Regions from separate parts of the Homo sapiens genome. Here all the other regions are linked to region 2. The links are contacts of gene promoters, found by promoter capture Hi-C in blood cells and fetal thymus (Javierre and others, 2016). All regions are on one chromosome and are shown on one strand. Each heading gives the region's core, a stretch centred on a gene start or on the middle of the fragment in contact. The rest is flanking DNA. Distances are from core to core; before and after follow the strand shown. Region 1 overlaps RNF145 (ring finger protein 145). Region 2 holds the start of MED7 (mediator complex subunit 7). Region 3 overlaps RNF145 (ring finger protein 145). Region 4 has its middle 7.6 kb from the start of RNF145.

Evidence for each region. The method cuts DNA at HindIII sites, captures the fragments that hold promoters and counts their contacts. A CHiCAGO score of 5 or more calls a contact.
Region 1: a fragment that was not itself captured here is called in contact with the fragment with the promoter of MED7 in region 2 in 1 of 17 cell types (fetal thymus); the score reaches 5.7 in fetal thymus.
Region 3: a fragment that was not itself captured here is called in contact with the fragment with the promoter of MED7 in region 2 in 1 of 17 cell types (naive B cells); the score reaches 6.5 in naive B cells.
Region 4: a fragment that was not itself captured here is called in contact with the fragment with the promoter of MED7 in region 2 in 1 of 17 cell types (neutrophils); the score reaches 5.8 in neutrophils.

The regions. Positions count from the first base shown.
Region 1 is chr5:159,174,856-159,182,050 of GRCh38, forward strand. It overlaps RNF145 (ring finger protein 145), which reads right to left. Exons shown (of 11, transcript NM_001199383.2): 4 at 7,105-7,195; 5 at 1,777-2,012. Among named protein-coding and RNA genes, the nearest start is that of RNF145, 31 kb to the right of the region's middle. The HindIII fragment of the contact is 1,873 bases long and covers 878-2,750 here.
Region 2 is chr5:157,140,733-157,147,693 of GRCh38, forward strand. It overlaps MED7 (mediator complex subunit 7), which reads right to left and starts at 2,133. Exons shown (of 2, transcript NM_004270.5): 1 at 2,088-2,133. RefSeq lists enhancers at 1,801-1,850, 2,661-2,760. The HindIII fragment of the contact is 9,177 bases long and covers 1-4,781 here.
Region 3 is chr5:159,194,456-159,201,889 of GRCh38, forward strand. RNF145 (ring finger protein 145) reads right to left here. Exons shown (of 11, transcript NM_001199383.2): 3 at 261-369. Among named protein-coding and RNA genes, the nearest start is that of RNF145, 11 kb to the right of the region's middle. The HindIII fragment of the contact is 2,726 bases long and covers 2,703-5,428 here.
Region 4 is chr5:159,213,331-159,220,985 of GRCh38, forward strand. No RefSeq gene overlaps it. Among named protein-coding and RNA genes, the nearest start is that of RNF145, 7.6 kb to the left of the region's middle. The HindIII fragment of the contact is 6,206 bases long and covers 1,994-7,655 here.

The sequences.
Region 1 (7,195 bases), core at 564-3,063, 2.0 Mb after region 2:
GAAACTGATTAGGAAAAATCAATCACAGAATCTGATTCAATCTAAGAGCATAGGTGTAACCAAGTTTCTAGAGTTACTATGTCAGGGACCAGACCCTGGTGACACAGCAGGAATTCTGCTGGACAGCTTACAAAACCAGTATCTAGCAGTCAGCTGGTCTTGCTGGAATCTCTCAATGTGATACCAGAATGTTTCAATAAGGTATAAACATCTTTAAGTATTAAGTTAAAATAAATTGACTTGCAGATTATTCTAAATTTAAAATTCTTTCATCAGTAAAGCAAAGGCTTTTTCTACAACCCAGTCTATTAACTTCTATTTTCCCCAGTGACAAAAGATTAAAAGAAAAAGGAAACTGCCCAACTAGCTGCAAAATTATTATCAGGTAAACTCATCATTACGAGGCAGAGAATATTTTTCTTCCTTTCCATTCAAGAAACAGACCACTAAAAAAACCTGTCTGTTTCCATTTCTTGCTTATCTGATTCTTTCCTGGTCACGCATTTTATAACCTATATTTCCAACAACTACATCTAGTTGATGTATGAATCTTATGGCAACCAACTAAACATGACATTAAAAAATGAAGGCTGAGGTTATTCAATAAATATTTAATATTCAATAAGTATTTACTGAATATTCATTATTTATTACAAACAAAGATAACCCTCATAAGACTGAATTCAAAGAAAAAATATGTATCTTAAATTTGTCATTATTACCCTGAATACAACTATAACCCTTCCTGCCCTGCTTCCCCATGAAGCCACTCTTCACTGACTGTAGAAATAATCCCTTTTCTGGAAGATCTACTCCTGGGAAAACTGCCCAAGTTAATCACTGTGTAAGACGAAGATAGAATCAGGCTAAGGCCAAAAGCTTAGAGAAAGTATTCTCAAAGATCTGCCCCTGGGGCCACAAGAGAATACTTCACTTAGCTGTTATCAGTTTGTTCTATCTGAGAGCTTCCTGTACCTTAAGGACACAGTCAAGAGGTGGAAGACAGTGACATTTTAACACTCTCTTTTTATACCAATGTCAGGTTAAAATCTATTTTATATATTACAAACTATCAATTAAACCAAACAGAAACATTTATTTCCCAAATGTGTATTGTTTGTATCTGGGAGTAATTTATCTTAGAGCAAAGGCTGAAAAAAGTAGGGAAGAAACTTTTACAAAAAGCATGTTATGTTGGCAAAGTCAATTCAAGTACTATATCTAAATGAAATCTATCATATTATAACCCAGAACTATTTAACTTTTCTGTTTAAATTAGGCACACAAAGGGAAGAAACTATAGTCACAGTAGGACTATAATCAGAAGGAAAAAGCAGGATTTGACTTATAGGTATTCAATTCTTTATTATTTTTGTCTTCATTACAATAGCTAACACATATGGAACATTGTCTGCCTGGTACTAAACTCATTTAAATCTCACAGAACTCTATGAGGAAAGCACAGCTTTCATTATTAGCTCCGTTTTACAGAAAGTAACGCAATTATCACAAGGTTACACAGCTAGTGAACAGCAGCATCAGGGTTCGATCTCAGATAAATCTGCTTTAAGAGAACCACTTCACTTTACTGCCTTCTCAATAGAACATAATCAAGAATCTTTCAGATGCTCCTAATTGGGCTGAAAATAGCAGCTGTTTTGAAACTGCAAAAATGAATGGTACCATAACTGTGAAATAAAAATGAACTATAACTTTAATGTACTTAACATTTATGTAGAATTTTATCTACCTGTTTGTGGTTGTCAGCAGTCTTACCTGAACCAATTCTCTGTATGCAGATTTAGCAAGGTTATAAGGTACCAAAAGATTAGACCCAAGAAAATAGAGAACTTCCAATCCAGTAAAAATCATAGCAAATTTATTGATGATAACAATTGTCTCCAAAGGAACAAGGCAGAGTCGTGCTAGCAGAGGAAGCATGTGAGCTGAAAACAGCCAAATCTGCTTTGTTTTCATGACACAGGAGCATAAAGTACACACCACCAACTGACCTAAAATAGGGAATAGAATACATTTAATTTTGAGTATTTGGCATCCACAAAATAAAAACAAACAAAAAACACTGTTGATAAGGATAATAACACAACTTTTGAAGAAGTCTAACTAAAATCTCGTAGATAATATTTTAAATCAAACTTAAACTTCATCTGACTATAATTACATATTCACATGTTCTGTGAATTTTGAATACTAATTCTGTAGGGCTGATCTGGAAAGAGCAGCATAAATCTCCACTGGTCGTCTGTGATGCCATGTGTAATATGAAGAAAACTTTAAACAATGTCTAATTCAGTATTGTGACAATTCAGTTGCTAATGTTTATACATAACTTCTTTTCCAAAGGTACGCAATATTTAACTGTTCTGGTCTATAGGTGAAAGCATAAAATCCAAGAGATATAATTACTTGTTCAAGATCATACTGCAACAATATTTGTTCTGATAATTTTTTAATCTTTATTTTTGGAGGGCCAAGTAAACTGCCCCAAATAACTAAATCATAAGTTAAAACTAAAAACTAAATAAATTCTTCTCACTGGGGATTACGCATGATCATTACATTAAACACAGAAATACAAAGAACAAAATGGGAAACTCTCAGTCTCTTATAATCCCACAACCCAAAGGTAGTCCTAAGAACACCCTGGGGTACACTGAATGTATGTGACATGATATTTGCATTTAGCCCTTTCCAAATATTCCATAATTATAAAATGCTTTGTATGAATAAGCTTTTACATTATGACATCCTTGTATAAACTACTTGGAACACATTTCCTAATATTCTCTTAGGCTAGGAATTACTGAATCAGAAAAAAACATTTTTAAAGACTTTGACACACTGTCAAGACTGCCCTCCAGCAACAATTTACCAGTGTATAATGTGGCTATTTTTCTATTAACTTGCCATAGTGAGTATAATTTAGAGATGGGAAGAACAGGGAATATTTCCCAAATTTTTTAAATTGGCATTTTGTTGGTTACTAACAGCACTGAACATTATCAATAAGTATATGAAAACATTTGCAATTATTTGGTGAAATGTTCACATTCTTTGCCCATTTTTCTGCTAGAATACGTATCCTACTGCCTGATCGAAATAGTAATCCTTAGTCACATGATTGCATTTTTCTAATATGTCCCTTGTCTTAATATTTTAAATAACTTTATTCTCTTATAAAAGTATGTATTGAAAATAGTCAAACCATTTTTTTTCTTAATAGTACCCACCTTTAGTGCCATGGCTTATTACATGGCTACCCCACTCAAGATTATACAAATAGCTGTATTTTCTTTTAGTAATTTTTAGCTAATTTTTAATTTTAACTTAAAAATTAATACATTTGATTTATTGTGGAATAAGAAAATAAAGATCGAAGTTTGTTTTTTGTACATGTTTAGCTGGTTATCTCAAAACTGGCTACTGGAATCATCCATTCCTTTCTCATTAATTTGAAATGCCACTGTAGTAAACTCCAAAATCTTTTACATATTTAGGTCTATATAAGAACTTGTTACTTTTTGTTTTCAGTGATCTATTCTAATGATGGTACCACCCTGCTCCATCATACTGATTGGACAAGTCCTCTCTCATTGCTCCTTTCAGAATTTCTTGGAGATTACTGAATGTTATTTTCCAGATTAATTTAGAATAATTAATCATATTCTCTCACTTCTTGTCAATGAAAACCAAAATGAAAATTTGGGACTTGTTTGTATTCTATCCATATACATGTTGAATATTCCTAATCCAAAAATCTAAAATCCAAAATGCCCTAAAATCTAACATTATGCTCCAAGAAAATGCTTATTGGAGTATTTTGGATTTCAGATTTTGGGATTAAGGATTTCCAAACAGTAATATAATGCAGATATTCCAAAATGTAAAAAAATCAGAAATCCAAAACACTTCTGGTGCCAAGCATTTTGAATAAGGAAAATTCAATTTGTGTTAGAAAAATACAAAAATGTCAACCATTTTTACATAAGACCAAACACTTACAACAATCTACTATGTCATAAACACATACGGTATTTTATCTCACAAAGCATTAATTTTGGCCTTTAAAAAACTGATACTAAAGTAATGTGAAAAATAATCATAAAGGCATAAAGAAAAGAAAAACTCCTAATTATATAGAAAACAAGAGGCCACCAAATGATCTGGCTTTCACTGTGTTTATAGCTATGAAATTTAAATGTCCTTGTTGAGCACAATGTAAACTTCCTCTAAGCTCTGAAAATTCCCTTAAGTCTATGCCAGCACATGTGGTGCTCAGTGCTGGGGTTACAGGCTCCCTTTATCTTCTTTCATAGAAGAATATGACTCATATGGCGTATTTAAGAGAAGACTACTCCTGCTGACGTAAAAGAAGGAAGGAGTCATATTGTTAGTGGAATTTCCCCTGAAGTTCCAAAAGAATAAGTTGTTTGTCTTCTGATTTGCCTATTTCAACTTTTAACTCTGCATAAACCAAAATCCCAATGTACTCTTTAGATTTCAGGATTCCACTATTAGAAATATCTCCAAGAGGTTGGCAACCCTAAGAAATCATGGCATATTAAAATTACCTAGTTTTTCAAAAAAGTTTGTTACTGAAATGAAGAAAAACACCAGAAAATTATTTTAAAATCTAAGTTGGAAGAAAACATGCTCCTTAATAGTTTATGGACTTTGGAAAGTTGAATCTTAGTTAAGTAAACAGAAGACCATGGCCACTGATAAGAAGAGTTTTAAGAAATATGCTTCATATTTATAATACAAGTATATGCATCATAAACTAAAACTTTACAAGCTTTCTAACTTGGCAAATATCTTCATTATTGAATGTTACCGTTAATAAATATGCCAACTCATAACGATAGTCATAAAGCAACATTATTTTTGTCCTCTGCTGTCTTTTAAAATCCACTCTGTAGAGATTAGTGGTTTTCCTGCCCCTAGATAAAATCCAAGGCAAGTCCCATAACTTTTCTACTCTAGCTTAGGTTACTGTCTCAATTTAATAATAACTGAAACTTTCAAACAGATTTAAAGTTGAGACTTATCCCTTACTCTAGAGTTCAGGCATTCTAGGGAAAGCATTAATTTTTACCTTTATGCTTTAAGATAGAAAACCTGCAAGTGGGAGAGAAGGTGGGGAGGTTGTGGCTGGCTTCTTTCTCTTTTTTGACCTAGCACTTCTCCCTCTCTCTCTGACTTACCAAGGATTGAAGTGGGTAGGGAAGAAGGAGAGGGAGGGAAGTAGGCAGGTTCCTACTTAACTGGACTCTTACAATGATGTGGTTGTTACTGGTGCTTCCTAGACTTGAGGTATCTAAAACTGATTTATTTTCCCCTGGACCCTTTTATGGGTTCTTCTGAAACCGTTCCTATCACTGTGGCTCTCTCACCTGCAGCAGTACCCTTGGTGCTTGGTATACACCCTCAACTGGCCATTTTTGGCTCTTTTCTCAGCTCCTGGGAATCTGGAAGGTCAATCCCTGTTGAGGTCTTCTCATCCATCTAAAAGGCCTTCTTGAACAGGACCCAAGAAAATCCTACACAGACTTTCGGGGCCACTGTCTAGTTCACAAGAAACTTACATCCTTTGCTCTACAATTTCCTGTATCAGAAGATACAGGAAAACCCTATAAGGCATTTTCATTCCACAGTCAAAACACTCAACAAGCAACTAGTCTATTGCTAGTCCTTTATATCAGATTAGAATTATAATGTAAGCCAAATATAATTTTAAATTTTCTATTAGTGTCATTTCAAAAAGTAAAAAGAAACAAGTGAAATCAACAATATATTTTATATAACCTAACATATCCTAAACATCATCATATAGACATTCAATCTATATTAAAAGTTAACAAGATGTATTAAAAGTTAACCTGGTTTGTACCAAGTCTTCAAAATTGAGTATGTGCTTTACACATACAGCACACCTTAATCTCAATTCACCACACTGCAAGTGCTAACCAGCCACATGTGGCTAGTTTTGGACAATGTAGTTTTAGATTTTGCAGGCTGAAAAGGCACAAGAATGATATAGTGGAATTCTGGCCTCCTGGAAAGGTGAGAGGTGGGTGAAGGATAAAAGACTGCACATTGGGTACAGCATACACTCCTCAGGCGACGGATGCACCAAAATATCAGAAATCACTGCTAAAGAGCTTGTCCATGTAACCAAACACCATGTGTTCCCCCAGAAACTTATCTAAAAAATGTTTTCCCAGCCTGGGCGACAGAGCAAGACTCTGTCTCAAAAAAAAAAAAAAAGTTTTTTAATGTAAGAAAATAAAAATAAAAGTGTAACTCAAAAAAAAAAGATGTTCCAGGGTGAGTCAGACACCAGTCCACAGCATTCCCCCCTTCACCACACAAGACACATAACTCCCCAAATGGTCCCCCAGTGAATCCTCTAGTGTAAAGGGCTGGGGAAGTATTTCAGAAAAAAAGAGTTCTCTCTGAAGAAATCCTCCTCTAATCTCTAATATTAGGCCTGTTAACACCTTCTACATGGGTGAGTTTCAAAGTCACAAAACAGGTTTTCTCTTACTTCCTTTTTTGCATTTTGGCATGGTACACTCTGGTAGCAGGGGTCTGGTACTTCACTTTAAATTGTATCTATATTGTTTTTAGGCCTTAGCCAACACTTCTATTTTTAACATTCTGCTACCTGAATATTTCAATCACATCTCAAGTTCTTGATGTTTCCGGACATTCATTTTTGACAATAAGGTCATGGCTTTCAACAGCAATAAGTAAATTTAAGATACTACGTGTTTCATTTTAATCTTTCAAAGTAATAATTAGCTCTATTTAAAAATTAATCTTCTCAAATACTTAAAAAACCCTTAAAAAAACACAAGCAACTGTGCACTATGTACAATATGACTATAAATACATAATCTATACATGGGGAAAAGAAGACTTAAAAAAAAAAAACCACCAAACAATGGGTATATGTGGGAAAAGTCCCCATGAATCACTTTTGAGAATTCCGTTTTAAAAAAAAATGAGTATGCATGAATTTTATAAGTTAGTAAGACTGGTCGGTTCCTACCTACACTTTAATTCTTTTATAATACTTACCTATTAAGGCTGTGGTAAACCGATTCATAGAGAGAGGTTCTAAATACATTGGTCCCTCATAGGCAAACTCCAGTTCACTCCGAACATAGTC
Region 2 (6,961 bases), core at 883-3,382:
AGTTTTGCCATGTTACTCAGGCTTGTTTCAAACTCCTGAGCTCAAGCAATCCTCCTGCCTTGGCCTCCCAAAGTGCTGGGATTACAGGCGTGAGCCACCACACCCAGACATTTTAAAACTTTTAACATAAATTCAGATTACAGAAAAAGTGCATGAATACACAAAAAACACTTCATATTCTTCACTCAGATTCTCCAAATGTTAACATTTTCCTTCATTTGCTTTATTGGTTTTTCATTCCTTTACCCCTGAATACTTCAGTGTGTTTTCTCGTGACAAGAATGTTTTCTTCTACCCAAAGCACAATTACCAAAATCAAAGAATTAACAGTGATCTGGTACTTCAAAATACATTTTTTTTTTCCCTGAGACAGTGTCTCGCTCTGTCACCCAGGTTGGAGTGCAGTGGCACGATCTCGGCTCACTGCAAGCTCGGACTCCCGGGTTCACGCCATTCTCCTGCCTCAGCCGCCTGAGTAGCTAGGACTACAGGCGCCCGCCACGACGCCCGGCTAATGTTTTCTATTTTCAGTAGAGACGAGATTTCATCGTGTTAGCCAGGATGGTCTCGATCTCCTGACCTCGTGTTCCACCTGCCTCGACCTCCCAAAGTTCTGGGATTACAGGCGTGAGCCACCGTGCCCGGCAGAAAATACAATTTTTGACAGCTCACGTTTCATCCCACTCAAACCTTTTTAGGTGAGGAGTGCTGCTCTGTACTTTCCTACACGATGTGCATTCCTGTATTGCGGCTGCCATTTTCCTAAGGCCAACTACATGACAGGTACCATTTTTTATGGCCTCTGTAACATAATCTTCATTAACAATTCTATGAATTAAGGTTTTTGGGGTTTTTGTTGTTAGTTTTGTTTTTTGAGACAAGGGCTCAATCTGTCTCCCAGGCTGGAGTGCAGTGGTACCATCAGGGCTCACTGCAACCTCTGCCTCCCGGGTTCAAGGGATTCTCCTGCCTGAGCCTCCTGAGTAGCTGGGGACTACAGGTGCGCACCACCACGCCCAGCTAATTTTTGTATTTCTCGGTAAAGACAGGTTTTCACCATGTTGGCCAGGCTGGTCTGGAACTCCTGACCTCAAGTGATCCGCCCACCTCGGCCTCCCAAAGTGCTGGGATTACAGGCGTGAGCCACCACACGGTCCCACGAATTAAGTTCTATTATCAATTTCATTTTAGAAGTGAGGATCCGAAGTCTCAATGAGGGGAAGTGTTGCCCCAGATCAAAAGGTTAATAAATGGCACAACAGGAATTCTTATCCCAGGTCCCTTTAGCTCCAAAGGGCAAGCTCTCTTATATCCCTAAGCCGAGAAGCATCTAACTGTACAATAAGGACTGGCATATCACAAAAATTATATTTCTTTCTCTACTGTCTCTCTAGATGGAACTTTTCAAAGGTGATGGAGGTCTTATTTTTAATAAAAGCAGAGCCAAGCATCAGAGCTGGTTCTTAACTCAAGATCCAACATCTAGTGTTTGTTCTACTGGGGGAGAAGGAGCTTCACCAGAAGACGACAGACATTCCAGGGTCCCAGCCCCAGAGATTTGATTCATTCTGTCTACTGTGAATGGGCCCTAGAATGTCGCTTTTAAAACCTCTCCAGATGGACCTGACGATTAGGCTTGGGATCTACCGCCCTCGCCTGCCCCCATACCTCAGCTGTTTCATAACTGCTCCCAGAAGAAGGAAGGGCAGGGAGGGCTACTCTCATGTTACAAAGAGCCGGAGAGGGCAAATGACTCGCCCAAGGCCACACAGCTTAGAAAAACAGCGGCGCGGGGACTAGACGCCAGGTCTCCCAACCTCCACTCCGGCTCGGCGTCCCAACACGGAGGAAGCCCCGAGACTGCCACGCTTAGAGCCCCCTCCTCCAGGCTGTCCACCCCGAGGCCTCCGCGCTCTCGGAGAGACCGCACTCTCGGAGAGACTCGGGAGAGAAAGACGAAAGACCGCCTTTGGAGGCCGAACTCAGCCATGCCTCCCCAGTTCCCAGCCCAGCACAGAGGAAGCTGCGGGGTCCGGAAGAAAAAAACGCACACAGGCGGCGGCCCCAAACCGTTGCCGCCCACTTACCTCAGCTCTGGCTTTACACTGGTAGCCGCCTTCCCCTCTGCAGCCGAAACCAACTTCCGGTCTCCTCCGGGAAGAAGCCACCGACTCTGTCCTTGATTGGCTGTAAGAGCTGTCCTTTAACGAAATTCTAGCTCCGCCTCAGACCGATCCCTCGCTGTTGCGCCTACGTATGTTTGACTCCTCCCATCCACCCGTTACTGACTTTTAAAAGTCGTAGCTGAGGGTTCCGTTTCTTCGTTTCTTTTTGAATTAAGGCATAAAATTGAACAAGACACCTTATTGCTTTATTTTTTATAGACCCCTTATTGACCAGAAACAATCTTATGTTTTAATGTTTAACATGCTCTTGTAAGACTTAACGTGAATTTAGAAATTTATGACACGAAAATAACCTCCAAAAGAAACGCTTGCTATTGCGCCTGCGTATATTCCACCCCCTTCCCCATTACCACTCTTTTACTGACTTAGTCGCTGCTGGTAGTTCCATTCCTTTTGTCCTTTTTTAATTTAACGCATACAATTAAGACGTCTTACATACAAATTCGAAAATATAGACATGCAGGGTTTTTTTGTTGTTTTTTTCTTTGAGACGGAGTCTTTCTCTTTCGCCCAGGCTGGACTGCAGTGGCGCGATTTCGGCTCGCTGCAACTTCAGTCTCCGGGATTCAAGCGATTCTCGTGCCTCAGCCTCCCGAATAGTTGGGGTTTCACCTATTTTTTTTTCTTTTTTTTGTATTTTTGGTAGAGACAGGGTTTCACCGTGTTGGCGAGGCTCATCTCGAGCTCTTGATATGAAGTGATCCGCCCGCCTCGGCCACCCAAAGTGCTGGGATTGTAGGCGTGAACCACCACTTCCGGACTCCCCCATTTTAAATCCCTCGCACGTATCAATTTATTTCCTGAAGAAATCCATCTACGTTGAGCATAACCCAATCCAGCTTTTCTCCTCACCGCTGACCCCAATGTATCCTGCACCAGTGACTTCCAATGGTCGTTCCCAGTCCTCATTTTACTCCATCTGTCAGCAGCATTTGGCACATTTGATTAATGGATTGCCCCAGGACTCAGTTCTCCAACCACTTCTCAGTCAGATATCAGCTGGATGATTACATGCAGGCCCTGGAACACCGTTTCCTCTGCACTTCAGACCCTCATATCCAGTGGTGACAGACATCTTTCCCCAGTTGCACTTTACTCAATTGCAAATGTTCAATCGAAGGAATCACCTTTTTCTCCTTTCTCACATACCCCACCGAAACTACCATACCAGCCTTTTGCATTAGATCTATTTAAAAATAAGTAAATAAAGTTCCAAATATGACTGACCACCGTTCCCACTGCTATGGTCCTATGCCATGCCACCATTATCTCTCACCTGGACTTCTTTGATTTTTTGTCCTCCCTTAGTCTATTTACCACACCTTCTTAAAATATAAGACCGGTCTTATCACTCCTCTATTCAAAATCCTCCAAGGCTTTCTATGACTTTTAGAATAAAATCTGACATCCTTCCCCTGGCCTATATCACAGGCCCTACAAAATTGCCAAGTACATCCCGGCCTTGGGGCCAATGCATTTGCCTGGAACTCTTTGCACAGATATTGACACGTCTCATTTCCTTCTTTCCTTTTTTTTTTTTTTTTTTTTTTTTTTTTTTTTGAGACGAAGTCTTGCTCTGTCACCCAGGCTGGAGTGCAGTGGCCCAATCTCGGCTCACTGCAAGCTCCACCTCCCAGGTTCACGCCATTCTCCTGCCTCAGCCTCCCCAGCAGCTGGGACTAGAGGCACACGCCATCACGCCCAGCTAATTTTTTTGTATTTTTAGTAGAGACGGGGTTTCACCGTGTTAGCCAGGATGGTCTGAATCTCCTGACCTCGTGATCCGCCCGCCTCGGCCTCCCAAAGTGCTGGGATTATAGGCGTGAGCCACCGCGCCCGGCTTCATTTCCTCAATTCATTCAGGTTTCTGGTCAAATGTGACTTCAAAGAGTTCTTCTGGGGTTACACTACTCTATGCAAAATAGCGCATCCCTAATCTTTCTCTTGGGAGATGCCCCTGAAACCCTTACTATGTATTATCTTTTTTTCATAGAACCTCTCATCATCTGAAATCATCTTACATAGTATATTTATGTATTTTATTGCCTTTCTTATCCATCAAAAATATCAGGTTTATGAGCATGGGACCTTTGTTTCATTTACTGCTGTTGTGTTTGAACCTACATACAACGGTGCCTGAAATTGGCAAATACTCAATAAGTGTTTATTGAATAAGAAACAAAATGAATACAATCATCACTTTCAAATAAATTCATAGCGTGGCTTTGGTGGTTATACCACAGTCTCTTTAGCCAGATCCTCATTGTGTTAAATTATTTTTCTCCAAATTTGATCCAGTGTAACTACACAGGATGATGAGATCCCAGTACATATATGTTTGTGCATGTGTCCAATTTTGTTCTTTGAAATAAATTTCTAGAAATAGAATTACTGGGCCCAAAGGGGCAGTGTCTTAACAGTTAGTAGCAGAATCAAGGCTAGAATCTTGGACTCTTGACTATCAATCTAGTGTTCTTTCCAATAAACTTCAAATGAATAATGGATATGAAGTCCATATCATGAGAAGGGCTAGTGACAATATGATGTGTGTTAAACATTTAATTATATGACTATATTGGCAAAATCTCAATGGAAAGCTTATTACTTAAAGATGCCTACTACAGCTTAACAAGGAATATGCTCGTTGAATAAATCTGTATATTGTGTGTCTGTTGTGCCGGCACTGGTCTAGAAGGCTAAAAAGACAGACAAAAGCCAGTGGGGCCTTTGAAAAAAGTGTTCTTTCTAGAAGGTGTTCTAGAGAGACACAGACAAGAAGTATACAAACAAGTAAAAACTTCGAATAGTGGTAAGGGCTATGGGGGAAAGTATAATACAGATTAATGTGATAGTGACGTGGGTTGGGGAATAGCTACTTTACACAGGGTGGTCAGGGTAGCCTCTCACAGAAGGTTAACTTTGGAAACAAAATATGAAGGAGTGAATTCTGCAGAGATCTGGGAGACAGCAAATGCAAAGAGCGTGGGGCTGCCATGATCTTTCTGAATTAGAGAGAGGAAGGCAGCCTGTGTGCTCCATAGCTAGTGAGCAAAGAAAGAAAGAGCAGGGGAGATGAAATGGGCAAAGACACACGGTAACCGACTTCTTGCCTCCCTTAGGATCTTGGCACATTATAAAAAACATCGCTGTCATTTGAACCTAAATTACAAGCAGAAATTTTTAGTTTCCACCCTATTGATTTTTTAAAATGTAGATTTATTGAGGGATACTTTACATAGAATAAAATTAACTCTAGGTGAATAGTTATAAGAGTTTTGATAAATACATACTGACATAAAACCACTACCACCCGGATTAAGATGTAGAATATTTCATCACCCCAAACAACTTTTTTTTATTTCAATTCCTTCCCTTTATCCCCATCCTCTAGTAACCACTGATCTGATCCCTGTTCATATAGTTTTACCTTTTGCAGAATGTCATATAAATGAAATTAGAAAGTATGTAGTTTTTGGTGTCTGGTTCCTTTCACTTAGCATAATACTTTTGAAGTCCATCAATGTTGTTCAATGTATAATACTTTGTTCCTTTTTACAGATAAGGAATATTCCATTGTATGAATATACTGTAATTCATGTATCCATTCACTGGTTAATAGACATTTGGGTTATTTCAGTTTGAGGTGATTCTTAACAAAGATACTATAAACATTCCCATGCAAGTCAATTGTATGGACATATGTTTTCATTTCTTTTGGATAACAACATAGTGACAAAATTGCTGGACATTATAATAATTATATGTTTAACTATATGAGAAACTACCAAGCAGTTTTCTAAAGAGGCTGCTTATTTTTCATTTCTCAGCAATCTATCGGAGGTATAGTTGCCCTCAATCTGCAAATTGGTGTTATCCTTTTAATTTTTACTTTTTGCTATTCTAATATCTGTATAATGATTTTAATTTGCATTTCCTTAGTATTGGGTATCTTTCATGTGTTTACTGGCCATGTATATCTTTTCTTTGGCGAACTGTCTGTTCAAAATTTTTGCCCATTTTTTAAATTGGCATGTTTTCTTACTATTGAATTGTAAGGGTGCACACACACAAATACACACAAGATATAAGTCCTTGATAAGATATGTCTTTTACAAATATTTTCTCCTAGTCTGTGGTTAATCATTTCATTTTTTAAGTGTCTTTCAGCAAGCAGAGTTTTTTTATTTTGATGATGACAAGTTTATCAATTATTTTATTTTATGGCTCATACTTTTTGTGTCCTTTCCAAGAATCTTTGCCTAACTCAAAGTCAAAGATTTTTCCTCTGTTTTCTTCTACAAGTTTTCTAATTTTAAGTTTTACGTTTAGGTCTATGATCCTTTTGGGGTTAATTTTTGTATTTGATGCCCAGTAAGGGTCAAAACTCCTTTTATTTGTTTATTTATGCTTATAGAAGTCGAATTGTTACAGCAACTTGTTGATTTTGTTGGCCTTACTACCTCTGTCATTGGTAGGCAGGTTTATAGATAGTAATCCCTGAGCGTCTGTTAGTCAGTTACATTGTATCTTTGGCTTGCTGATCAGCCCGGCAGAATCATTGGAAGATAGCAAGTAAAAATTTTTATCTCCAAGCTGGGCATGGTGGCATGCACCTGGGGTCCCAGTTACTTGGGAGGCTGAGGTAGGAGGATTGCTTGAGCTGATATAGCGCCACTGTACTCCAACCTGAGCAACAGAGTGAAACTCTGCCAAAAAAAAAAACGGAAAAAAAAAGGCTGGGCATGGTGGCTCACGCCTGTAATCCCAACACTTTG
Region 3 (7,434 bases), core at 2,816-5,315, 2.1 Mb after region 2:
ACGCCCAGCCAGTTCAAGGATATCTTTATAAACATAACCTTAAGGCTTGTTTCATGTTAAGCTTGTTTTTAAAAGCAGAAATAAAATGTCAGCATAAACCAGCTATTAATCCTGTGTAAGATTTGGAAAATGAGTATCAAACCAGTTTTGGACCTACCAAAGCCTTAGCTTTACTTAACAGTGTTCATGAAAAGTATTTTATTGGCAAAAGAAAACTTTAAATTCAATCATACATTTCAAAAATGGGGTCATATTCTTACCTGGAAATTTGATGTCCAGCATAGAGGAGCAGAGCAGTCAAAAAATATAGATAAAGCTGAACCAGATGCTGCCTGGGCAATGTTAGCAGCACCACACTTAAGATATAACCTGTACCAGAAAGATAAATAAAATACAATTTTAATTTAGTTTCCCAATTAATTACAATAAAAGAAAGAGCTTGAGACAAATAATTTTCCAAATAGGTTTCAGTACTTTCTGAGGTTTTTTATTATACTTACCAAAGTAAGTTTAGCATAGTGACACCCCTATGGATTTTTTGTTGTTGAAAATGTATTGTGTTTTTCACTTCTTTTGTAGATTTCTCTACCTAATAATCAAATATATCACACAAATGTGTAACACAACTCCTTTCTTCATCTACCTTTCCTTGATATCAACTTACTTGTTTTATGCCAATTCTCTCTTTCTTTCTAGTCCCAGAGGAAAAACTGGGTGTCTTAATGTCTCTTTCCAAGGCTGCCCCTTCCATGTGATTTAAGACCTTATTTCTCCAACCCCTGAAGACTCTCTATCTCCTATACTTTCAGTCGTTCCCCCTGACATCACTCCTTACCTTTGTTTCAAAGAATGTGCAGGGCTTTTACCCATCTTGAGAAAAAAAAAATAAACTTCTTTTCACTGCGATTTTTTTCCTATTATTTTTCTCATTCCACTGTCAAATGTTTGAAAAGATCTATACCCAATGCCTCTATTTTCTAAGCATCTATTCTTCTCTTTACCATCTACAATCCCTTTACAAACCCCCCTAACTTGTTTGCTCTAAAGAAAGTTGGAAGTCAACGACTGCCTACTTATCACATCTAAGACATCCTGCTTATTTTTGATCCCCAATATCCAGGCAACGACCATCAAAACGTTGTTACTCTTTGGCTCTGTTCATATGGATTTCCTCTTACCCTCTAACTTCTCTAATTTCTTTTCACGCTTTCCAATAAACACTGGAAATTTGGTTCCTAAACAACTGTTTTTCTCTATATATAAAGTACCTAGTGCAAACAACATATTTTGTAACTTCAAGTATCAGCATCTCTTCTATAAATGTTATCAACAAAGTTACTGATAACTTATTATACAGGCAAAAACATATCCTCATTTCTTAATCTAAGTAGACATCCCATCTCATGACACCTGAGATATATTCCACTTAAATGTTCTCATATTCAACAAGTACAAACTGTGCTCCCCACCTCCTCCCTCAACAAAGTAACTCAGTGACTCAAAACCTGTCATCTTTTCTCTCTTATCGTCAAGTCCTGCTGAGCCTTCCATGATAAATTCCTCTCATGTGTTACCCTTCCATTCCAACCTCTATGTCCCATATCCTAATCTGCTCTGCAATGCACAGTATACTACCATCCTTCTTTCAGTCTCTATTTTTGTATACCCTATACTTCAAGCTTGTCCAACCCACGGCCCATGGGCTACATGTGGCCCAGGATGGCTTTGAATACAGCCCAACACAAATTCATAAACTTTCTTAAAATATTATGAGTTTTTTTTTTTTTTTTTGCAATTTTAAGCTCATCAGCTATCACTAGTGTTAGCATATTTTATGTGTGGCCCAAGACAATTATTTTCCTAATGTGGTCCAGGGAAGCCAAAAGATTGGACACCCTGATATACTTAATTACCAGGGTAATATTCCTAACACCATCACTTTTACTTGACAATTCTCCTGCTCTAAAAGTTATGAACCTGACATTCTTGGTCTTACACAATCTGGACCCAGTCTACTCTTCTATAACCATCTTCCACTTAATTTACAAATCTTTATTAAGGCACAGGTACTCCTACTTATCCCCTATTGCCTCTCTCATGCTGAATCAATCATGCCAAAAGCTAAGAAAACATGAGCATGCTTGGGACTAAAGAAACAGAACTGAGGATTTCCTACACATCCTAACTGCAAGGACAGTCCATCAAAAGCCAGAGATAAGTATTTTTATTTGCTCTTTATTTCTTAAAATAATTTCCCCAATTTTGTTAACCCCTACCTCAAATGACTTTAGAGGTATTTTAAAGGATATGTAATATAGTTACTAAGCATTTCCACTGATTGTAGCTGAAGGATTTTCTAATGTCTATTACATGAAACTTCTCCTTAAACTCTCTTTTAACGAAACTGTCATTTTCCTTTCCAGAACGGTCTTGTCTTTTCTTTCTCCTATATATCGCATATAAAATCAGCGGCCAAATCTTCTAGATCAAACATATTCATTTCATCCATTCCTTCAATTATCCAGTCATTCAATCAACATTATTATGTGTAAAGTATGACCCACTTGCATTCCTAGACATGGAAGATCCAAAATTAATGTGAATAATAATCTAGTGAAAAGATAAGCATGGACAAAAGTAATTATTAGACAAAATTGATGCTATAATAAATGAACATTGGAAGGGCTATGGTTAAGTGATTAAGCTTGACTTGGATCTCTAAAGGTGAATGGTTCTTTACCAGGCTAAGAAGAAAAGGAAACATTCTAGGAAAAGAGAACAGCAAGCATGAAAACCATAAAAGTGTAATTTTCAGGGGACAGTAAATTCTGTACGTTAGACTAGACTTTGATGTTAACAGAAAGATTGGGAGATGATGCTGAAAGAACTAGCAGCTAAAGCCTCAATATAAAGCCTAAATACAATAATCAAGAATTTAGACTTAGCTAATGGTTCTCAAATTCTTCAATATCTATTTAGGTGAGGTAAGAGAACAGAAACCAAAACAACAAAAGCACCATTGCTCATCTATACCCCATTTTTATATTCCAGTGGAAAAGTAACTCTGTGATAACAAAATATTTGTGTAAGAAAACTTTGAGAGACAATGAATACTAACTATGAGAGCAGTATGAATGAACCATCTGAACTACGATGTATATATAATCTAACAATTTAAAAAATGCAAGCCAAAAATACTATTGACACAAACATGCATCACAACTCACTCTACAGCATTAACCAAACAATCCATAACAAACTAAGTTGACAATGGCAAAGCTGTTAGTTTTTAAATTATACACAGTAATTTGTAATTAAAAAGCAAGACCAGTGGCATTTAAAAATGATGACCTAGGCCAGGTGTAGTAGTGCACACCTATAATCCCAGCTACTCGGGAGGCTGGGGTGGGAGGATCCCTTGAGCCCAAGAATTCAAGGTTACAGTGAGGTTATGATTGCCAGTCTGGGTGACAGAGCATGACCCTGTCTCTATAAAAAATAAGGGTTGGATGTGTTGGCTCACATCTGTAATCCCAGCACTTTGGGAGGCCAAAGCAGAAGATCACTTGAGCTTAGGAGTTCGAGACCAGCCTGGGTAACACGGCAAATTCCTGTCTCTACAAAAAAATACAAAAAATTAGCCAGGTGTGGTGGCACACAACTGTGGTCCCACCTACTGAGGAGGCTGAGGTGGGAGGATCACACGAGCCCAGAAGGTTGATGCTGCAGTGAGCTAAGATTGTACCACTGCACTCCAATCTGGGCGACAGTGAGACTCTATCTCTAAATAAATAAATAAATAAATAAATAAATAAATAAATAAAAGAAATAATGACCTACGGGAACAGACTCTGAGAACAGAAAAAATAAAAAATAAATCAAAATGATGACCTGCTTAAAACAACACTGATGAATCTAATAATTTCTGCTATTTAAACATTATGGTAGTTGTAGGGTAAACAGCAGGACCAGAGGTAAGATGAGAGCCTGGATTGTAACAGTAGCTTTGGGTATGGAGCTGCCAGTCAGCCATGAGATACATATTTAAATAGGTCTTAGTGGTTATCTGTGGGTGACTAGTTGAGAACAAGGAAGTGAAGATCTGATGTTTCTAGCTTGGGTAATCAAGAAGACAGCTTTGCTATTAAGACAGGAAACACAGCAGGAGAAAGACTTCTGAGGTGAGAAAAAGGTGATGAGTTCAGTGATTGACAACAAATTGAAATGTCCATAGGCTATTTAGGTGGAAATGTCTAAGAAGTAATTCAAAATGCATTCATTCAGGGCTGGGCACAGTGGCTAATATCTGTAATCCTAGCACTCTTGGAGGCTGAGGCAGGAGGATCACTTTAGGCCAGGAGTTTGAGACCAGTCTGGGTAACAAAACAAGACCTTGGTATATGCCTGTAGTACCAGCTACTCCAGCAGCTAAGGGTTACTTGAGCCCAGGAGTCTGAGACTGCAGTGAGCCATGATCACACCACTGCACTCCAACCTGCGCAAGAGTGAGACCCTGTCACGTACATACATACATATATATAAAATTCATTCATTATTGGGCACCAGCTAGGTGCTGGGAATACTGAGATAATAAACAACCCCCTTCTTACCTTAAAGGAGCTCACAATCTATTAACAGTTGGGAAAATAGATAAGCATATGGACCCTTAGAATGCAACATAATAATTGCTATGGTAGAGATGTGAACTGGTTCCATGGAATCACAGAGGAAGAACATCAACTCCAGACTACAGTGGTCAAAAAGCAATGTAAAGTGGAGACAGAGATCTGCAGCCCAAACTACGTTCGGTCACCCAAACAACAAAAGATTAAAATTAAACACAAATTGTGGGCAATATCAACACTTGAGAAGTCTAAAGAAAACAAATCAAAAGAATCAGAAGCAATGGTCAGGGAGTTAGGAGAAAAATCAGGAAAAAAAAAAAAAACACTTTCAAGAAAGAGGAAGTGGTAAACAGCTCCATAAACATAGAAAAGTCTGTAGAATTAGGACATAAATGAGGGTTGAATTTTACATTTTAAGTCACTAATGATTTTAGTGATGGTAGTTTCAAAAGGATTTTCGCATCCATTTCTTCCTTTCTAATTTCTACCTTGCCAGTTCTGGCTCTCATTACCTCTTGCCTAAAATCCTAACTGGTCTTCTTACCTCCAGTTTCTCCCCTCCCCAATCCATCATCCTATAAAACGCTGCCTAATCAATCTTAAAATGCAGCTCACCTGCTCTAAAATCCCCACTGACCCACCACGACCTATAGAATTAAGCACCATATCTACTGTATGTATTCAGGATTCTTCACAAAAGCCCTATTCTACCTTACCAATATTACTTCTACTCCTCCTTTCATATCCTACACTCCAAAAAACAGTGGGCAGTCACTTCTCTTTCAGCAGAACCCACCCTGGAAAGCTTCTAAGTTTGAAGACACAATTACATTCCATTAAATACAAACTTTATTGCTCCCTCCCTTAATTTTTAAGCTCCTTAATTACAATTAGAAGACATAAAGGGGGAAAAACTCCCACTTACGATAGCAATAAAAAAGATAAAATACCTAGAAACAATAAATGTCAGGAGGCTGCGGCAGGAGGATCACTTGAGCCCAGGAGTTCCAGGCCAGCCTGGGCAACACAGCAAGAACCCATCCTCCCCACCTGCCCCCAAAATTAGTAATAATGCAATCTAAATTTTAAAAAAAATCAAATGGGTTGCTTTGTTTTTGGAATGAGACCTAGACAATTTTGAGACAATTCTTAAATTCACATAGAAAACTAACCATAAAAAAAAAGCTCAGAGGAGGAAATAAAGAAAACTGAAGGGACTAACCCTGTTAGACAGTAAAATATAATCTAAACCCTCAACAAATAAGACAGCGTGTTAATAGTTCACAAACAGGCAGACAGACTAAAGGAAGAGAAGTTCAAAAATGAAACAAAATATATGTGAGAATTCAGTATATAATGAGAAAAAAATGGACTAAATAGGTGAGGATGACTGTGTGGTTATCTAGAAAAAATAAAATTATACCTATAACACACTATTCATACAGATAAATGAAGCAAAGATTTAAATGTAAAAATAAACCCACAAAAATAGTAAGATAAAATACAACAGAATTCTTTATAAACTCAAGAATAAAGAAGGCTTTTCTAATTGACTCAAAATACTAAAGCTTAAAAACCTTCTAAATGTCAAAAAATCATAAGCAAAATCACTGAGTTGAAACTGGAAAAACTATTTTCAACTTATCACAAAGGATTAATTTCCCTAATGTATACCAAATTCCCACAAATTGGTAAAAAAAGAATCTCACAGAAAAGTGGGCAGGGTATATAAACTGACAACTCTCAGAAGAGAAAATACAGGTTTTTCTTAAGTATGTGTATGTTCAATTCATTCATAATAGAAATGCAAACTAAAACTACATTGAGTTAAAAAAATCAATTTTTCCACCTATTGGAGTAGCCAAAATATTTGTGGTAACAGGCTGTTTTGATAATATAGGATTGTAGGAACTCTCAACCACGGTTTTTGGAGGTACAAAATAGTAAAACCCTATGGAAAGTACTATCTGTCAACACTACAAATATATATAAGTTAACCCTTGAACAACATAGGATGGAACTGTGAGGGTCCACTTACATGTAGATTTTTTACAACCAAACTCTTATGGAATACAGTATTTGCAACATGCAAAACCCACGTATACAGAGGGCCAACCTTCTGCATACATAGTTCCACAGGGTCACTTGAGGGACCTGAGTATGCGCAGATTTTGGTATACGTGGGCATCCTGGAACCAACTTCCAGCATACACCGACGGACCACTGTACTCTTTAACCCAGCAACTTCGCTTCTAGTAACTTAGCCCCAGGTTATATTTGTACTTGTTGAAATTATAGCTATACAAAGTTATTTAGCACAACGCTGTACAAAATAGCAGAAGGTAGGCTATCTAAAATGTCCACCAATGGAGTAATTAGTTCAATAAATTATGGTATATCCATACGAAGATACTATGCCAACGTAAAATGCAATCGGGAAGAGGAGAAATGAGGCCTCGATATCTACTCAAGAGAGTCTTTAAGATCCGGCAGACTGTCATCATAAGAAAAAGAGCACAAAACTCTATTTCATAAATATCTAAAAGCAGTAGTTATGGCTCCACATACATCACAAACAAAAACCATGATTCAAAACCATGTATACCATGCTAACATCTGTATAAAAAGGGGGGAAATATACATTTTTTATATTTACTTATATATACATAAAAATATCTCTAGAATTATACAGAAAGAAATAAAAGCTACATGGTGTTCAGAGTGAGAACTCAGCGAATGAGTAACAGAGATGGGAGGGAGATACTTTTCATTAAATACTTTTTATGCTTTTTTATTTCTGAATGTAGAT
Region 4 (7,655 bases), core at 3,847-6,346, 2.1 Mb after region 2:
ATGAGAGATTTACTCTTCTATTCAGATGCTTCCTATCTGCTAGCTATGGGACCCTGTGCCAAGTGTACGTAACTTAAGAACACCTCCATTTATTGTCTGTAAAATAGGGATAGTGATAATATCTACTTTGCGGGGTTGTTGTGAAAAATAAATGAAGTGATGTGTGCTAATATTCTTGGTACAAAGTCCTCAATAGTTCCCCCTCCTTCTTTTTTTTTTTTTTTCCTCGAGACAGGGTCAAGCAGTCCTCCCACCTCAGCCTCCTGAGCAGCTAGGACTACAGGCATACGCCACCACACCAGCTAATTTTTGTGTTGAGACAAGATATTGCCATGTTGCCCAGGCTGGTCTGGGCTCAAGTGATCCACATGCCTCGGCCTCCCAAAGTGCTGGGATTACAGGCATGAGCCACAGCACCTGGCCTAGTTCCCTTCCTTCTGTCTGTAGTATTTGATTGTCAACTTTTATTCTCTAATAGGGAGATAAAGATGAAATTGTAACTTTATATTAACACTAAGTGATTCATACGCATAGCTGGTGCTGAATAAACACTTTTCGTGGATAACTGAAAACAGCAATAGAACTTATATTGTTTTAACACCAAAATAAATGTATTTCTTTCTCCCTGGTATGGAACTAATACCTGAGACTATAAGAAGAGAAAGCATAGAAATAAGTCAGCTTTTTTGTTTGTCTGGAATTTTCAGATTTTTCTGAAAACATTTTTTATTTCCCCACATTTTAAGAGTTTCAAACATATAGAATTAAAAGAATATTCTAGTGATCACCCATATGCATACCATCTAGATTCAACAATTGGTAATTTTTGCATGTTTGCTTTATCTATGTGTGTGTGTCTTTTGCTAAGCTATTTTAGAGAGCTACAGACATCAACACACTTCACTCCTGAATACTCCAAGCTGCTGCTTCTAAAAATTTTACCAATTACCGTTACCGCACCTAAGAAAATGGAGTATAGTTCTCTACATCCTCTACTGCCCAGTCAATACTCAGATTTTTCTCAGTTCACCTCAAAATATCTCTAAAGAAGATCCAATCTGACAAGCCAGCTTTGCTTTTCATCAATCTGAGCACCTGTGACTGTTTAGAATCACTAACATCAGCAGAAACAAATTATATTTTTGCTGTTGTTTTCAGATTTTAGCTCAACTGGCACCTCTGTTCTATCCAGCTACTTTCTTTGCCTTGGTTCTGATTAAGCCTGAGGTAGGGAGTAGTGCAAAACTGTGTGTTGTTGTTTATGTGTGATGATATTCAACTAAATAAAATGGACATTGATTGTCATAGACATTTGTTAGCTACCTCCTCGCTATTCTTCTCCTCTTCTTCTTTCTAATACCAACTTGAACCTTGAATAAACAGGTGGTCTGTTGGCCATTGACCAGGAATGGGCTCCACCAGTTTATCCTTTCTCCCTTAGTGCTTAGTCCAGGGAAGGACCCGTGAGCCACATTGGGCCAATCAGAGGTAGGACTAAACATCAGAGGTTTTGACTGAGCTATGGGAAGAGCAAAGTTTCTCTTTTCTGCTAGACCTAAAAAAGGAAACCTGTAATCCCAGGAATTTACTGGCAGCTATCTGGGATACAAAAGGAAAGAACCAACTGAAGATTTAGCCAACAGAAGAAAGAGAACCTGAGACAAAAAAGAAACCAGGACCTGGTCACAGTGTAAGAGCTCTAAGCCTTATCTGAAGCCAGCATGCTGACCTCCTCACTCTTTAATTTATATTACCCAATAGATTACCTTTTTTGGCTTAAGCCAGTTTGGGTTGTGTTTTTGATTATTTACAGTTAAGAGTCCCAAGGCATTCAATCCTTATAATTTGCTTGTCACCCATCCCTGAGTATAATATGCTGCTATGAACATAAGGAGGTAACTAATAATAATAATGTTAAGTACATAAAAACACAATTGTACAGCTCCACATACTATTATGAAATACAACCATTTAACCACTATCCAGAAATATAAGCTTGTCCACATCCCAGAAGACCCTCACATGCCCTTTCATTCACAGCTGTCTCACTAGCCCCAAAGGTAATCATTTTCCTGACTTTAATGTAGTCACTTTCTTTTCTTTCTTTGACCACCTAACTATGAATTCCTGAAAACTGTAGTCTAGTTCTGCCTGTTCTTGAATGCTATATAAATTGCATAAAATAATCAAGTATTAGATTTTTTTTTCCTTTTTTTTTTCTTTTTTGAGATAGAGCCTCTCTCTGTCACCCAGGCTTGAGTGCAGTGGCACAATCTCGGCTCACTGCAACCTCTGCCTACTGGGTTCACACGATTCTTCTGCCTCAGCTTCCTGAGTAGCTGGGATTACAGGCATGCACCACCATGCCCAGCTAGTTTTTGTATTTTTAGTAGAGACAGGGTTTCACCATTTTGGTGGCCTTGGACCCCTGGCCTCAAATGACCCATCCACCTCAGCCTCCCAAAGTGCTGGGATTACAGGCATGAGCCACCATGCCCAGCCTAGATATTCTTTTGTGACTAGCTTTTTCTCCTTAACATTGTGAGATTCAATTACGTTCTCGTGAGGCTACAGTTATTTCATTTTCATTGCAGTATAGAATTGTCCTATGAATAGAATATGATTTAATCATCCTAGTACTTATGAACATTGAATTTATGAACATTAAAGTTTCATTTTGGAGCCATAGGTATGGTGAATCATGCTGCTGTCAACATTTTTGCACTTGCCTTCCTGGTCACCACCTGTACATATTTCCCTTGAATTGCTGGGCCACAGGGCTACGTATCTTCAACTTTCTTAGGTAACTCCAAACTGTTTTTCAAGGTGATTGCAGCACCTTACTTGCCTAATAGCAATCTGGGTCCTGTTGCCCTGTCTCCCAGCCTATGATTGGTATTGTCAGACTTTTAATTTTAACCATTCTAGTGGGGTTTTTAACTTGCATTTCCCTAATTGCCAATAAGGTTGAGTACTTTTTCGTATTTTGGGGGCCTTTTTAGATTTCCTTTTTGATGAATTGCTCAAGTCTTTTCCCCAGTTTTCCCTTACGTTGTCCTTTGCTTATTGTTTTCTTTTGTAATTCTTTGCATATTATGAATGCAAGTCCTTTGTCAATTATGTGTCAAGCAAAATGTTCTGTTATGTAGCTTCCCTTTTTAGTCTCAAAATGATGTCTTTTGAGGAAGGTAAATTTTTAGTTTAAATTTAATATTTTTTATTTGTAATGCTTGTTTTAAACCTGTTTTTTCTGTGCTCCACAGCACCATCTCTGTCATAAATTGAGTGTGCATATCTGAATAGATCTGTTTCTGAACTTTCTATTCTATCCCACTGGTTTCTTTGTTTATCCTTGTGCTGACACCAGACTGCTCCAGTGACTCTAAGAAGCTGATATGTGGTAAAGCACATCTTCCCACTTGGTTTTCTTTGTTTTGTTTTGTTTTCGGGAGGATCTTGGTTCTTTGCATTTCCTTATCAATTTTGGAATCAGCTTGTTGAGTTTCCCAAGATCGTGCTGAGGTTTTTAGTTTCCACGTAGATATTTTACATATCTCTTGTTACATTAATTCCTCCATGCCTGGTATTTTTTTATGCGATTGCTAATGGTAATTTACTTTTTTTTTTTTTTTTTTTTGAAGAGGAGTCTCCCTCTTTCATCCAGGCTGGAGCTCAGTGGCACAGTCTTGGCTCACCATAACCTCTGCCTCCCAGGTTCAAGCGATTCTCCTGCCTCAGCCTCCCAAGTAGCTGGGATTATAGTTGCCCACTGCCATGTCCAGCTAATTTTTGTATTTTTAGTAGAGATGGGGTTTCACCATGTTATCCAGGCTGGTCTCAAACTCCTGACCTCAAGTAATCCCCCCATCTCAGCCTCCCAAAGTGCTGGGATTACAGGTGTGAGCCACCCCACAGGCCGGAAATTTGCATTTTATTGTATGTTAGGCTTTGAGGATGTAACAGTAAATCTCAAGAGTCTCTGACCCCAAGACCTTCCAATGTCTTAGAGTGGGGGCAGACACATAAATGATGTGGGTTGGTTATCACAGATATACAAAGTGGTGTGGGTTAGTTGTGATAGAGGTGAGAAAATGTTACCATGAAAATGCAAATAGTGTGAAGTGGGTGGGATTAGCCCATTTGTGGGTTCTTGAGGGGATGGGGAGAGATATTCTGAGTGTTGAAAAATGCATAGGAGTCAGCTGAACGGGTGCTGACTCACACCTATAATCCCAGCACTTTGGGAGGCCAAGGTGGGTGGATCACCTGAGGTCAGGAGTTCAAGACCAGCCTGACCACCATGGTGAAACCCTGTGTCTACTGAAAATACAAAAATTAGCTGGGCGTGGCCGGGCATGGTGGCTCACGCCTGTAATCCCAGTACTTTGGGAGGCCAAGGTGGGTGGATCACCTGAGGTCAGGAGTTTGAGACCAGCCTGACCAACATGGCGAAAACCCATCTCTACTAAAAAAAAATAAAAATATTAGCCAGACATGGTGGCATGCACCTGTAGTCCCTCCCAACTATTCAGGAGTCTGAGGTGGGACGATGGCTTCAGCCCAGGAGGCGGAGGTTGCAGTGAGCCGAGATCACGCCACTGCATTCCAGCCTGCACAAAAAAGCCAGACCCAGTCTCAAAAAAAGAAAAAAAAATCTTCAAACAACCCATGGAGAGTCAACAGCTTCTCACAATAGTTGATCAGTTATAAAAAGCCAGCTAGCTTCTACCAGTTAAGATACCAGTAACAGTGGTGCCAATTGTTCAGATTATATGAAATTACAACTCCTATGTGTTATATATTCTATAATGTGAAGCAACTTGTGCACCCTGCAAACCAGGGTCCCTTGTAAATCACTGCATGGAGTAGTTTCATGGAGTAATAGGAGAATCAGTGATATTGTGGGTCCTCTTTTATCAATTATGTCACTTACCGCTGCGTATCCATATATTCTTTTTAATAAACTGCTATATATTAAAAAAAAAAAAAAAAAGACGTGCACCCAGAAGTGAAAGAATCAAGTTTAGGCACCTGCCAGATGCAGACAACCTGAAGACCACCAGCAACCTGCACTGCCTTAGCTGGCTTCTGCCCAGGTGGGGTCTGATGCAGCTGCTGGTGCCTGGGAAGGATTTAAGTGGGGGAGAGAGAGCATAAGGTGACCACAGGCCCTCACAAGTGCAGAGAACTCTCACTTTTTGGATGGAGATTGAGGCATTTAATTAATATCTTGACACATTTCTAATTACCAAAGCCAGACTGATTTTTTACTTAAAGTGAGTAGGAGTGCCCACTAATTAAGAATTCTTGATATCTGTCCAAGTTTCCACTGGAAGGCAGAAAAAAATTACTCCTTCTGAATACTTAAAGGGATAGTGAGTGATAAAATCAGATTGCATTTTGATTGCATCACAAATCTTCCGAGTTACTTCCAGAGTGTAAAGTTCATATAAGAAAGGATATGCAAAACAATTATGATTGGATCTCAGATTTACAGAGGGAATGGGGGGAAAGATGAGGTAAGCTGGGGCCAGTCCAGGAGTTAAGGAGGGACTTTTCATGCCATGCGAAGGAGTTTGGACTTTAACACAGAAATCAGTTAAATGCTGAGGAGTTGACTTAGAAGAGTAACATTTAGGGCATTTACTATGTTTTAGGTCCTGTACTAGGTAGTTTACATGAATTATCACATTTAATTATCATGAAAAACCTATGAAGTAGATAGTATAATTATTGCCATTCTAAAAATGAGAGAACTGAGGCATAGAGAGGTCAAGTAACTTGTCCAGAGTCACGCAGCTAGCAGCAGCAGAACTCAGATACAACCCAGACTTGTCAGGGTTCTATGTGTATATCCCCCATTATGCTGCACCTGCTTCCTGTCCCACTGATAATGCCAGGATAGATGATGAGTTTGTTCACAGAGTGTAGAACTCAAGCCCCACTGGTGTCTCCTTAGTAATGAATGAACGATTATTTTACCTGAAATGACTATATAAACAAAAGACAATAACACTTCAGGAATCTTCCCTGTGAGTTATCTTTGTTTTTGTTTTTGTTTTTGTTTTTTGAGACAAAGGCTCACTTTGTTGCCCATGCTGGAGTGGAGTGCCATGATCTCGGCTCACTGCAACCTCTGCCTCCTGGGTTCAAGCGATTCTGCCTCAGCCTCCTGAGTAGCTGGAACTACAGTCATGCGCCACCACTCCCAGCTAATTTTTGTATTTTTAGTAGAGATGGGGTTTCACCATGTTGGCCAGGCTGGTCTTGAACTCCTGACCTCAGGTGATCCACCCACCTCGGCCTCCCAAAGTGTTGGGATTACAGGCGTGGGCCACCGCGCCAGGCCCCTGTGAGTTTTCTTTGATGTCTGATATGGTTTGGCTGTGTCCCCATCCAAATCTCATCTTGAATTGTGGCTCCCATAATTCCCACCTGGGAGGTAATTGAATCATGGGGGCAGGTTTTTCCCATGCTGTTCTCGTGATAGTGAATAAGTCTCACGAGATCTGATGGTTTTATAAAGGGCAGTTCCCCTGTACACCCACTCTTGCCTGCTGCGATGTAGGACACGCCTTTGCTCCTTCTTCACCTTCCGCCATGATTGTGAGGCTCCCCCAGCCATGTGGAACTGTGAGTCCATTAAACCTGTTTTTCTTTATAAATTACCCAGTCTCAGGTATGTCTTTACTAGCAGCATGAGAACAGACTAATACAATGTCTCCACATTGTTTCACAAAATAAGAACGTTTGCTTTGGGTCATAGACTTCTGAGTAGAGTGTGGCTAATTAATTACTCTTTCTAAATGGGAAATGGAGGTGGCGGCTAGGAGAGTGCAGACTAGAGTTACTCTAACTGGGTTCAAAGCCTGGCTCTGCCTCTTACCAGCTGTGTGACCTTGGCCGAGGTACTCAACTTTTCTTTGCCTAATTTCCTATTTAATAACACCTACCTCACAGGATTTTGTGGTCAGATGTGTCATTATACATATAAAGTACTTAGAACAATGTCTTGCACAAGGAAAGCAGCATTGCTATGGTCTGAACGTTTATGTTCCCCCAAAATTCATATGTTAAAATCTATTATTCACTGCAATAGTATTAAGAGATGGGGTTTCTGGGAGGTGATTAGGTCATGAGGGCTCTGTTCTCATAAATGGAATTAGAGGCTTGAGGGAGCTTGTTCGCCCCTTCTGCCATGTGAGGACACGTAGAAAGCACTATCACCAGGAACAGGCTGTCACCAGACAACCGTTGCTGCCTTGATCTTAGACTTGCCAACATCTAGAACTGTGAGCAATATATTTATATTGTTTATAAATTACCTTATCTAAGATATGTTGTTATAGCAGCCCAAGCCAGGATAAGCACTATCATAATTGTTATTATTATTATTTTTGGCTTATCATGCTTATACCTTCACTATTCAAAGATACTAAAGATACTATCAGTCAGTATTTACTGAGCACATATTCATAGCATCTGTTAGATGCTAGGTGCCATATAAGTGAATTAGAACACACAATTCCTGCAGGTGCTAAGTGTGATGTAAATGAACCAGACCATAATTTCTGCCTTCAAGCCTGTTATGACCCAGTTAGATAGATGGACCTACGTATGCTGCCATGTTATAAAGCTGCATGATACATATTTTA